Regions from separate parts of the Homo sapiens genome. Here regions 1, 2 and 3 are each linked to region 4. Evidence: promoter capture Hi-C in 16 types of primary human blood cells and fetal thymus (Javierre and others, 2016). All regions are on one chromosome and are shown on one strand. Each heading gives the region's core, a stretch centred on a gene start or on the middle of the fragment in contact. The rest is flanking DNA. Distances are from core to core; before and after follow the strand shown. Region 1 overlaps TPTEP2-CSNK1E (TPTEP2-CSNK1E readthrough). Region 2 overlaps TPTEP2-CSNK1E (TPTEP2-CSNK1E readthrough). Region 3 overlaps TMEM184B (transmembrane protein 184B). Region 4 holds the start of BAIAP2L2 (BAR/IMD domain containing adaptor protein 2 like 2).

What was found. Contacts are between HindIII fragments. The CHiCAGO score rates a contact against its expected background, and 5 or more counts as called.
Region 1: a contact is called between a fragment that was not itself captured here and the fragment with the promoter of BAIAP2L2 in region 4, in 3 of 17 cell types (endothelial precursors, M2 macrophages and M1 macrophages). The highest score is 6.6, in endothelial precursors.
Region 2: a contact is called between a fragment that was not itself captured here and the fragment with the promoter of BAIAP2L2 in region 4, in 1 of 17 cell types (M0 macrophages). The highest score is 5.0, in M0 macrophages.
Region 3: a fragment that was not itself captured here is called in contact with the fragment with the promoter of BAIAP2L2 in region 4 in 2 of 17 cell types (M0 macrophages and M2 macrophages); the score reaches 8.6 in M0 macrophages.

The regions. Positions count from the first base shown.
Region 1 is chr22:38,302,251-38,304,950 of GRCh38, reverse strand. It overlaps TPTEP2-CSNK1E (TPTEP2-CSNK1E readthrough), which reads left to right. Exons shown (of 15, transcript NM_001289912.2): 7 at 1,703-1,813; 8 at 1,942-2,090. CSNK1E (casein kinase 1 epsilon) reads left to right here. Exons shown (of 11, transcript NM_152221.3): 3 at 1,703-1,813; 4 at 1,942-2,090. Among named protein-coding and RNA genes, the nearest start is that of CSNK1E, 14 kb to the left of the region's middle. The HindIII fragment of the contact is 3,411 bases long and covers 1-2,700 here.
Region 2 is chr22:38,334,146-38,337,004 of GRCh38, reverse strand. It overlaps TPTEP2-CSNK1E (TPTEP2-CSNK1E readthrough), which reads left to right. Exons shown (of 15, transcript NM_001289912.2): 5 at 299-397. Among named protein-coding and RNA genes, the nearest start is that of CSNK1E, 18 kb to the right of the region's middle. The HindIII fragment of the contact is 1,450 bases long and covers 877-2,326 here.
Region 3 is chr22:38,264,693-38,267,634 of GRCh38, reverse strand. The region is part of intron 1 of TMEM184B (transmembrane protein 184B); the gene reads left to right. Among named protein-coding and RNA genes, the nearest start is that of TMEM184B, 6.8 kb to the left of the region's middle. The HindIII fragment of the contact is 1,957 bases long and covers 321-2,277 here.
Region 4 is chr22:38,109,381-38,112,080 of GRCh38, reverse strand. It overlaps BAIAP2L2 (BAR/IMD domain containing adaptor protein 2 like 2), which reads left to right and starts at 1,397. Exons shown (of 14, transcript NM_025045.6): 1 at 1,397-1,606. The coding sequence starts at 1,556. It overlaps PLA2G6 (phospholipase A2 group VI), which reads left to right. Exons shown (of 17, transcript NM_003560.4): 17 at 1-586. The HindIII fragment of the contact is 13,026 bases long and covers 1-2,700 here.

The sequences.
Region 1 (2,700 bases), core at 17-2,516, 190 kb before region 4:
AGGGTTTCACCACCTTGGCTGGGCTGGTCTCGGACTCCTGACCTTGTGATCCACCCGCCTCAGCCTCCCAAAGTATTGGGATTACGGGCGTGAGCCACTGTGCCTGGCCTCGGGTAGAATGTTTTCAAGGTGCACTCGTGTCGTAGCGTGTATCGGTACTTTATTCCTCTTTATTGCTGAATAATATTCCGCCGCATGGAGGCACTGCATTCCATTCATCCTTGCATCTGTGACAGATGTTTGTTGTTTCCACCCTCTGGCTGCTGTGAGGAGTGCACCCCTGGGACCAGGGTCATTGTGTGAAGCAGGCATCCTTTCCTCTTCACTGCCGCCTGGGATTCCCTGGTGACTGCGCCACTGTTCCTGTTCTTCTGCTGCTGAGCACTTGGGCTGTTTGCTCCTGTGTCCATCCTTGTCCTGTCCCCCTGGTGCACACGTGTTTCTGAAGGATGTACACTCAGGAGTGGGGTTGCTTGGGCGAGCGTTTGTTTATGTTCAGCTTCACCCAAGAGGTGCACAGGGGCTGTGCCAACTCACACCCACACCTTTATTTCTTATATACAAACTTTTCCTCTACTTGAGATTTCTCCTGGTTGTGGTGTGAGCCATGGTGTCTTTTCTCAGGTGGCCAGCCGGTTGTTCAGGGACATTATTAATGAACAGTCTCATCTTTTCCTCTGATGTGAGGTCCTGCCTTTCTCCTGTCTTGAACTCCTCCTGAGGCTGTGTCCCTGGGGGTTGTTCTGGCCTGTTTGTGTCCTGTTGCGACACTGTCCTACTCCTCCTGCTGGGCTCGCTGCTGGCCCCAGGAAGGAGACACCCTGTCGCCCAGCCTAGCCCCAGCCCTTCATCTCATCCACCCATACAGCCAGGGAAACTGAGGCAAGGTACACTTTGGGCTTGGTCTTTCTTGTGACTTCTTGAGTTGGGCAGTGGGCCCAGGCAGAGAGCGGGGCCTTGGTGTGTGTGAGGGTATTTTCTTAGAGCCCCTTGAGAAGCCAGGAGTGGACTGGGGGAGACGGGGAGGTGCAGGCAGGACCTCTGACCTATGCTGGAGGCCAGCAGAGCCGGGGTTGATCTCAAGGCCGCCATTTACAGGTCAGGTGACCTTGAGCTGGGTCTCTAGCTGGGTCTCTGTTTTCTCATCTCTACAAGGGGGTTGAGAATCGAATGAGACACTGGATTAGAATGTGCAGGGCTGCCTCTGAAGGCATCAGCATTGACTGAGGGGTTGCTGCGGCTGTCCCATCCTCATCCTGTAGGCCAGGGTGGTCCTGGCTTGTTCTGGTGTGTTCGGCAGCCCAGCCCCATTGGGCCTCTTCTGCACGTGCCACCATCTCAACCCGACAGACCTCACTGCCTGAATTTGCTCTAGGACTCAGCCCCCTCCCTTAGGTGGTCTGTGAGCCTTTTGCATACCTGACCCTTGCCCCACTCACATCGGGCCTTCTTGTCGCCCCAACCTGTGGCCCTGGGTAGCCCTTGTGTGTCACCTCTGTCCCTCACAGCGCTGACCTTCTTTCCCCTCAGGAACCCTTTGCCGGGGCTCCTTTGCCCCCTTCCCAGCCTCCCCCAAGAGCTCCTCAAGGGCAGATGGCCCCGGGCCCGGCACACGCCAGATCTCAGAAATGCTTAGTGGGGCGCCTGGGACTGCCTGGCCTTTGAGGGTGACCCTGGTCCCTTGCCTCCCTGCCCCGGGCAGGTGCCAACATCGCCTCTGGTGAGGAAGTCGCCATCAAGCTGGAGTGTGTGAAGACAAAGCACCCCCAGCTGCACATCGAGAGCAAGTTCTACAAGATGATGCAGGGTGGCGGTGAGCGCAGGGTGGGCGGCGGCGGGCGCCGGGTGGGTGGCGGTGGGCAGCCATGAGCACAGGGTGGGCCGGGCGTGGCTGGCTGCCTGCCTCTGACCCCTGACAGAGGCCCTCTGCTTGACCCCCAGTGGGGATCCCGTCCATCAAGTGGTGCGGAGCTGAGGGCGACTACAACGTGATGGTCATGGAGCTGCTGGGGCCTAGCCTCGAGGACCTGTTCAACTTCTGTTCCCGCAAATTCAGCCTCAAGACGGTGCTGCTCTTGGCCGACCAGATGGTGAGTCCCCGTCCCCTCCATCCCCAGCCAGATGCCTGTGGGCCCAGGATACCAGCCCTGCCTCCTGCCCCCAGAGGATGCCAGAGGATGGGCCTGGGCCAGGGGACCTTGTCCACTGGCTATAGAATTGTAGGTGTTTATTTATTTTTTGAGGCGGAGTCTCACTCTGTCGCCCAGGCTGGAGCGCAGTGGTGCGATCTCAGCTCGTTGCAACATCCGCCTCCCAGGTTCACGCGATTCTCCTGCCTCAGCCTCATGAGTAGCTGGGATTACAGGCACCTGCCACCACGCTGGGCTAATTTTTGTATTTTTAGTAGAGACAGAGTTTTACCAAGTGATCCGCCCATCTTAGCCTCTCAAAGTGCTGGGATTACAGGCGTGAGCCACCGTGCCCAGCCAAGTTGTTTATTTAAAATGTGATTTCAGGCCCAACTCCAGACCTGCCGAGTCAGGGCCTGGGACTCTGCCTGGGGTAGTTTTATTTATTTATTTCAAAAATATCATTTAATTGTAAGAAATAGAGATGGGGGTCTCACTGTGTTGACCAGGCTGGTCTCAAACTCCTGGCCTTGAGCAGTCTTCCCATCTTGGCCTCCCAAGATGGGAATTA
Region 2 (2,859 bases), core at 352-2,851, 220 kb before region 4:
TCTCCACAATGAACAGGTATTCTGCATGACTTCCTTGGAAGAGATTTCCAGAAATGGAATTGCTGCCCTAAGGCAAACGCTAATTTACGACTCTTGGGCAGCTGGAACCTGTCCGACAGAGCGGAGACCCTTATCTCTGCCACCACCAGCAGGCTGATATTTTCAAGAAAAAAATTTGCCAAATACAAGCAGTCTCAGATAATACAAAGAAGATGGAAAGTTTCCGGAGCGCAGGTGTCAGATCCAAAGATAACTTGACCCAAACACCCCGATCTCCATGTCCCTATCTCTCTCTTAGGTGTTGGAGCGGGCCGGAGAGAAGTAGAGTGGGCTGCGAGGAGAAGGAAACAGGCCTTTCGGAGGCTCCTCATCCCTCGGAGGTCATCCCTTACTCCAGGTGATCTGAACCTGAAGTCCGAGGCCCCAAGAGTTCTAAGTAACCCAGGGGTGGAGGTGGGGTGGGGGATCCCAGCTCTTTCCGATCTGGGAGATCAGAAAGATGCTCATCTGGGAGAGTGGGACCTCCCCTTTCAGTCCGCCCACCCCCGAGGACCGCACTTGGAGGGCCGCACTTGGAGGACCGCGCCTCCAAGGCGGGCGCGGCTGACGCCCGGGGCCCAGGCCATGTGGGGCGTGCGTGCCGGGAGAAGTGTCCCAGCGCCTCACCCCGCAAGCATGAGAACCACGAAACCCCCGGGGCCGGGAAACCGGGGCGGGGCGGGGCGGGGCGGGGCCGGGAAGCGGCGCGGGGCTGGGCCGGTGACGTCGCGGCCCCGCCCCCGGCCGGCTCCCTCCTCCCGGAGCGCTCCCCAGCGGAGTCCTCACCTGCAGGCACAGGTGTGCGCACTTCGCATCTCGAAGGCCGGCCAGCAAGCTTCAGGTGAGCGCCAGCAGCAGCTGGGGGTAGGTGCTGGGAGGAGGAGGGCCCGGGGTGGGGGTCCTCACTCGACGGAGAGGAGAACCGGGTCAAAGGAGAGGAGGAGGAGGTGGGCGTGGGTCTGTGGAGATACTGCCTGCTCCCCCCAAATCCTCCCTTGTCTCTGGGTTATAGTCACGTTGTCCTGAAAACGTAGACTTTGGAGGGAATTGAAGGAGAGGAAGTTGAAGAGGAAGCAGCAGGTTTCCAAATATTTCAACCGCAAATGTATTGTTATCATTCTTCTTATTATTTATTTGTTTGTTTTGTTTTTTTGAGACGGAGGCTCACTCTGTTGCTGGCACGATCTCGGCTCACTGCAACCTCTGCCTCCCGGGTTCAAGAAATTCTCCTGCCTCGGCCTCCCTAGTAGCTGGGATTACAGGCATGCACCACCACGCCCGGCTAATTTTTGTGTGTTTTTAGTAGAGACAGGGTTTCGGCTGGTCTCCAAACTCTGACCTCAGGTGATCCGCCCTCCTCGGCCTCCCAAAGTGCTGGGATTACAGGCGTGAGCCACCGCACCCGGCCCTATAATTCTTTTTATTATTATCATTATTATCATTGGTGCCTTTTCTTTGTTGTAAAACTGTATGCCGATTGACTATTTGGCAAATGTAGAAAAGTAGGAAAGAAATCATCCATAGTACCAGGACACAATCACTCTGGATATTTTGGTGTGTTTCCTTTCAGTCTTTTTTCCATGCACAACCATTTTCATATAATTTTATCATACTGTATCTGCAACTTTTATGTCCTGCTTTTCCCTTGAATATTGTGTCATAAGCATTTTCTCGTTGTGGTGAGTCATTTGTGTATGTGTAATCATTGTTTTAATGGCTGCATAATGTAACATTTGAGAGATTGACCATGGTTGGGTACCATTCTGAACACTCCATGGAAGATTATGAAGGGAGACCGGGAGATGTAACAGAAAAAAACAGGCCAAGACCTCCACCGCCAACACTGGGATCTGGATAAAGACCTTTGCTCTCTCTAACCATGAGTTTCCACATCTGGAAAGTGGGTACATAGAGCTACCTCCCCAGGGTGTTGTGAAGATTAAATGAGCTAAATTATGTAGGCCCTGTCCCCACAAACACCGCCATCATGGGTCTGGCAGAAAAAGGGTCTGCATGTTTGTGTGTTTGTAGAAAGGACTTGGACCAACTGAAGGTATTGAGGGACCAGAGAACGGGAAGTGCTGGGGAGAGAAGGACGGGGATGAGCTCTTGGGAAAACCCCCAGAATGAAGACATCTCTGAGTCTGGGCCAGGTGGACACGAACCACTAGGTCGGCGCATATCCGCTCCTTGTGGGCTGGGAGCAGACAGGATCCCTGAGCCAGGGCCAATGACCTCCAGGCCTCCAGATGGGTTCGCCCCTTTGGGATGAGTTTCTGGGCAAGCTTCAGAGTGAGGGGATTAGAAGAAAAATAGGAAGGGGTGAAGGTGGGGCATAGTAACCAACCCCTTGTACAGATGAGGAAACAGGCTCAGAAGACAGGTGATTTGTTCAAGATCCACATGGGAAACAGTAACCGAGTCGGTTTGGCCCCCAGGGCTCCTAACTCCCTCAGGGGTGTCTACACCAAATGCCTGGATGGGGGAGTTAGGGAGAGGAGGATGTCAGGGCTGGGTCATCAGCTGTACTTGTACCAGGCTAATCTTTGCTTAGAGAAAACAGAAGTCTCTGTGCTTTGGGCCTCCGTTTCCTCAACTGTGAAATGGGAATAATAACTCCCCAGCTACCTACTTACCAGGCCCTCCTCCCACTTTGAAAGGCCTGCTCAGTCTCTGACTGTACACCCCCACCCTGGCCCCTCATCTTCTTAACTCCCTGGCCATCTTCAGAGGGGGTCTGGGTGCTGGGAACCTGTGGCCACACCTCAGTGGGATAGGAAATCCCCATTTCCCAGAGCCATCCATTTCTAGACCCTGGGG
Region 3 (2,942 bases), core at 50-2,549, 160 kb before region 4:
ATGGTGAAACCCCGTCTCTACTAAAAATACAAAAATCAGCCAGGTGTGGTGGCATGTGCCTGTAAACCCAGCTACTTGGGAGGCTGAGGCAGGAGAATTGCCTGAACCTGGGAGGCGGAGGTTGCAGTGAGCTGAGACTACGCCATTGCACTCCAGCCTGGGTGACAGCGAAACTCCATCTCAAAAAAAAAAAAAAAAAGATATTAGGGGTGGTTGGAACAGGATTGGTTATTCCAGGAGCCGGTGGTGCTCACTAAACAGCCTTGAGTCTGGCTGGCTGGTGTGGGAGGTCTTAGGCCTGTGATGGGAGACAGGAAGCTTGGTGGACACCTCCTTTTCCTTCTCTGGGGTGGAAACCACAGGGGAAGATCCACCCAGAAAGCCTTTGTGCTGAACCTGCGTCACTTCCAGCTCAACCATGTTTTACAAAGTCACATCCCACTAAGTGAATATTTGGTGAAAAGTTTGCCACGTTGATCTCAGTCTTGTACCTTTGAAAAACAATAGGCTTCTCTGAGATTAGAAGTAGTACTTGTTTTTTTTTTTTTTTTGAGACAGAGTTTTGCTCTGTCGCCCAGGCAGACAGTGCAGTGGTGCGATTTCGGCTCACTGCAAGCTCCGCTTCCCGGGTTCAAGCCATTCTCCTGCCTCAGCCTCCCGAGTAGCTGGGAGTACAGGCACCTGCCACGGCGCCCGGCTAATTTTTTGTATTTTTAGTAGAGGCAGGATTTCACCGTGTTAGCCAGGATGGTCTCGATCTTCTGACCTCTTGATCCACCCGCCTCGGCCTCCCAAAGTGCTGGGATTACAGGCGTGAGCCACCGTACCCGGCCGTACTTGTTGATAGTAAACTTGAAGCACAGGAAAGATTGGGGATAAGAATAAAAATTACCCCAAATTTCCAAATCAAGAAGTAATCATGGTTCAGGTTTGGGCAGATGTTCTTTCTAGGCATGAACACACGTTATCTCATTGTTTACTTAACACCGGGTTATAAACATTTACCCATAGCATTTGAAAGGTAGCTATAGATAGAAAAGAATCAGAGAAGTTCTAAAACAGCTCTTGCGCTTTGTTTCAAATTCTCTGCAGGAAAGATGAGGTCTTCAGCCTTTTTTTTAGCTGGACGGCACCGTTGCAGCAGTGGTGAACAGGGCACTGGATTGAGTCAGGAAACCCAGCTGTGACCTTGGGCAAGCCACTTGCCCTCTTTGAGCTTCACTCCTGCTAAGGCAAGGGGCGCTATTCGTACCCTGTCTGCCCACCTCACAGGCTCTGGTGAAGTCCTTGATTTGAACGCCTTTAGCTCCCAAGGTTGTGGTTTGGAGATAGGGCAGGTCACATGACCATGAAGACTGAAGGAGAAACGTGGAAGCACGTGTGCCTGTTGCTTCTTTTCCAACTTAAAATGCTTGGTGATCTCCTGAAGACTCCAGCCTCCTCTCTGGGAAGCCAGGATCCACAGACCCTTTACCTGCGGGTCATGGGCAGTCCCAGATGGTCCCCCTCCCCAACAGAGGGGGTGCAGTGAGACCTCCGGAAGTTACTGCCTCTGTTACCCTCAAAGGGATTTTCAGATCAGACAGCCCCCCTACTCCAAGGGACGTGTGTGGAGCTTGGTACCTTTATTTATCTCCTGCTCCAACCCCTGTGGACTGCCTGCACCCAGAATGGGGCCTCTCCTGCTGGCAAGTGGCTGAGAACCTCCACTCCACTCAGCAGGGCTGTTCCCCATTTACCGAAAAGCTCCGAGAGAAAATAACTAACCCCATGGCGCCGCTGTAGCTACTGGCAGAGCCTCCTGGTCCCCACCTCTAGCGCCTGTGGTTTTTGTTTCATGCAGAGTGAGCAGTGAATCTGGGATCCCATCAGCAGTCAGTTTGGGTGCCTGCGAGGCACAATGATAGATGTTGGTGAAGGGTATGTGTGAGGATATTAATTAATATTAACATGCTAGTTATATTAATATTCTCATTGGAATTTGTGGGGCTTTGCAAGTTATATTTCAAATATATGGTTTTATGTAATCCTTTTAACTGCCCTGAAACCTTGAAATTATTGCACCTATTTTATAGATGGAGAGACTGAGGCTCAGAGGGGTGAATTGCCTAAGATCCTGGGGGAGGAAGCACCCAGGTTTTCTGGTTTTGAGTCCTGGGCCCTTCCTGCTGAGTAGCTACCCCCAACACAGACCTGCCCTTGGAGAGCTTGCAGCCACACTGGGAAGGCCAGTGTATTGGATTGCTGCTTAGACCTGGAAAGCACGTGAATAAAGCTTCAGGTTAAAACCATGGGGGTTCCAGGAGGCAGCAGTCGGCTCTGCCTGGGGGTGAGCTGAGGAGCCGGTGCTCTCTGGAACAAGGGTAGTTGGGCTGAGGCTCAGTGGACAGTGGAGGTTGGCAGGTGAAGTGCAGGAGGTCTTTGCAGGGAGTGGGACCACCTTGAGCACACACAGAGGAATGAGACAGGCAGGTTACTCAAGGAGCAGAGGTCTCGTGACCACTTCCCAGAGCATGTGGGGTCCTAGCCTCATCTCCAGGAGGAGAAAGTGCATCTATACACAGATTTGTCAATGGAGTTTAAATAGGATGTGGGAAAATCTAGATTTTCCAAAACAGTACATATTTGCTTTGAGAAGAAAGGTAGATGCAGGATGCATAGGTTAGATAATTTTAATAGCAGTAACCTCAGAGCATGTAAGTATGATTTGATTTACTGGAGTGCCTGGCCGTCTCAGTCAGTGGGAGCACGGCTTGGGCTGGGAGATGAGGTTGACAAGGGTTCTTTCTCTCAAATGCTTCCTTTGGTTTGCTAAGAGGTATCTCCTACTCGGCCGGGGGCAGAAGACTTTTCCTTCTTTTCCCAGTTTGCAGTAGTTGGGCCAGATTTGTGGAAGTGGGAGAAAGGCCTGCCCTGCTTCTACATAGAGTTGGCTGTCCTGA
Region 4 (2,700 bases), core at 148-2,647:
GGCAGATCTGGGCCCAGGCACCTCTGAGTCCATAGACCAGGCCTGGGAGAATGCCAAGCTGCCTGCCCGAGGCTGGTCCTGAAGGCCTGTCTCCCACTAACCCCGCCTTCCAGCACTTTCTGTCATTCCAGGCTGGGAAAGTCTAGAGCCCCCTTTGGCCCCTTTCCCTGACTGTCAAGGACAACTGACTCCCCCATCAGCTCAAACATTAAGGGTACCCGGGCACAACCGTACCCCTGCCCCCAGCCCCAGCCTCCCTGAGGGCCTGCCGGGCTGCCTCTGCCCCAGCCCCCAGCAAGGGCACTCCCAGGCTTCCTGGTGGGTGCAGCCCACTCCCTCTGCCCTCTGCTCCGTTCCCTGGGGGCTGGGACTAAAGAAATGGGTGTCCCCCACCCCATCAGCTGGGAAAGCCCAGGCCGCAGGAGTGGGATGCCCGTTGGACTTTGCCCCTCACACTGGCCCAGCCCCTCACACTGCCCCACCCCGAGAACCCTCAGCTCTCAAAGGTCACTCCTGGGAGTTTCTTCTTCCCAATGGAAGTGGCTTAAGAGCCAAAACTGAAATAAATCATTTGGATTCAAGTTCACCTGTGTTGTGTGTGCAGTGGTGTGAGATCCACCTGTTCCCCTGACCCCCGGCTCCCCTCGGCCTTGACCCTTGGCCTTGACCGGACTTTTCCTTTGTACCCGGACACTCTGTTTTCCAGGATCCCTGGGCAGGGACACCTCCTCTTTCCTCTAGGCCTCCCCTAAACCGGCCCTTAGGGTATGCAGAGGCAGCTGCCAGGCCCACATACCCCCGGCAGGCCCAAGGAGGGCCACAATCTTCAACTTCATCTTGGAGGACCAGGGAGAGCCCCATTTGTCACCCAGAGAGGCCGGGGACTCCGCGTGGACAGGCAGCGCGTGTGCAGGGCCGAGGTCTGCCCAGGGCTGGGCAACTCCAGCGTTTGTGCTGCTCCTGCTCCGGCAAGTGGAGGAGCTGGGCGGGCCAGAGCGGCTGTGGGAGCCAAGCTCAGAGGGCGTGGCCCCACTGTGAGCCGCAGGCCTGAGGACAGTGAGAAGTAAAGCGGCGTTCCCCTCCAGGGGCTGCTGCTGCTGGGTCTGGCAGAGAGAGTCCTGGGGGAGGGCATCGGGCAGCGCCCGCCCAGTAAGGTGGGCAATGCCTGGTATAGGCAGGTGGGAGGGCGGGGCCCCCCAGGGTTGGGGTCCTTGAGGAGGGGGTGACCCAGGAGGGGGCTCATCCACATGGGCACTTGTATCAGCCCACAGCTCCAAGGGGTGAATAATTGAAGGGCAGGTCACACGAGCCTGCCCGGCACAGGATGCCTTCCCTGCCGGATCTGGTTACGCCCCAGATCACATTCTGACATCCCGAGTTGGTGAATAATTAAGCTGCCACTCCTCTGAGGCAGGCCTCCATCTCCAGGTCCCTCTCCGAGGCTTCCTCGCTGCCAGCTGAGTCGTGGGCACCTGAGGGACTACCTACCACTGCTCCCGGCTGTGCCATCGCCACCAGCTCCCAGCCTCCTGCTCAGACCCGGGACAGCCCCTCCATGGCCCCCGAGATGGACCAGTTCTACAGGTCCACCATGGCCATCTACAAGGTGAGCACATGGGTGGCCAAGCCAGGCCTGAGCCCCTCCTCCCAGGGCACAGAAATCAGGCCCGCTCTGGAGGACGGAGGGCCAGCCGGGGCTACAGATGTCCTGGAAAGGGAAGCCTGGAGCCAGGCTGGGCCAGGGGTGGGTACGGGGGTAAGGATCCCCGAGAGCACTCAGCCATACAGCGGGAACCCCCAACTCCCAGATGCTGGACAAGGCAGGAGGGAGCCCAAGGCCCAGGGTGGGGAGAGTTGAGTCTGGATGAGAAGGGCCTGGCTGCCCGGCCTGGGAATAAAGAAAGACCCTCCCTCTCTCTCTCTGTCTCTCCCTCTCTCTCTCTCTCTCTCTCTCTCTCTCCCTCTCTCTCTCCCTCTCTCTGTCTCTCTCTCTCTCTGTCTCTCTCTCTCTCTGTCTCTCTCTCTCTCTCTGTCTCTCCCTGTCTCTGTCTCTCTCATTTCTGAGCCCCTCAGACTTCCTACTTCACCCCCGGGGGGTTGTTGCAGCCGCCACAGACATTTATTGAGCGCCTCCTGTGTGCAGGACCCTTTCACCTGGAGGCCTCACACCACCCACCTGTGAGGTGGAAAATGACCACCCTGCTTGATAGATGAGAAAACTGAGACCAAAGAGGTTAAACAGCTCATTCAAGGTCACGGAGGGAGGAAGAGGTGCTGCTGGGATTTGAACCGAGACCCAAGTCCAAGTCCAGGCCCAAGTCCAGGCCCGTCTTCACCATCCGGGGAGCTCTCTGCCCGGCCCCAGCCCGAGGAGGCCCACACTAATCCAGCCACAGCCTTGCCCATGGGGGGCTGTTCTCGGAGGAGGGCGAGAGCTGCCCTTGCCCCGGGGGTGACTGTTGGCAGCCCCAGGCGTGTAGCCCGGCAAGGCCTGGACACAGGGCAGGGCTGAGCCGTGCCCAGTGGGGACCACAGCAGGCGGGCCAGCTTCTGCCCAGCGGGAGGAGGAGAACCTTCCAGGTGCACCATCTCGGGAGGCACCTCGGTCCCGCCAGAGCAGACGTAAGCGGGAGCTGGCTGTGAGGGGACCACAGCTTAGAACAGGACCCCAAAAGATGGGCTCTGAGGTCCCTGCAGCCA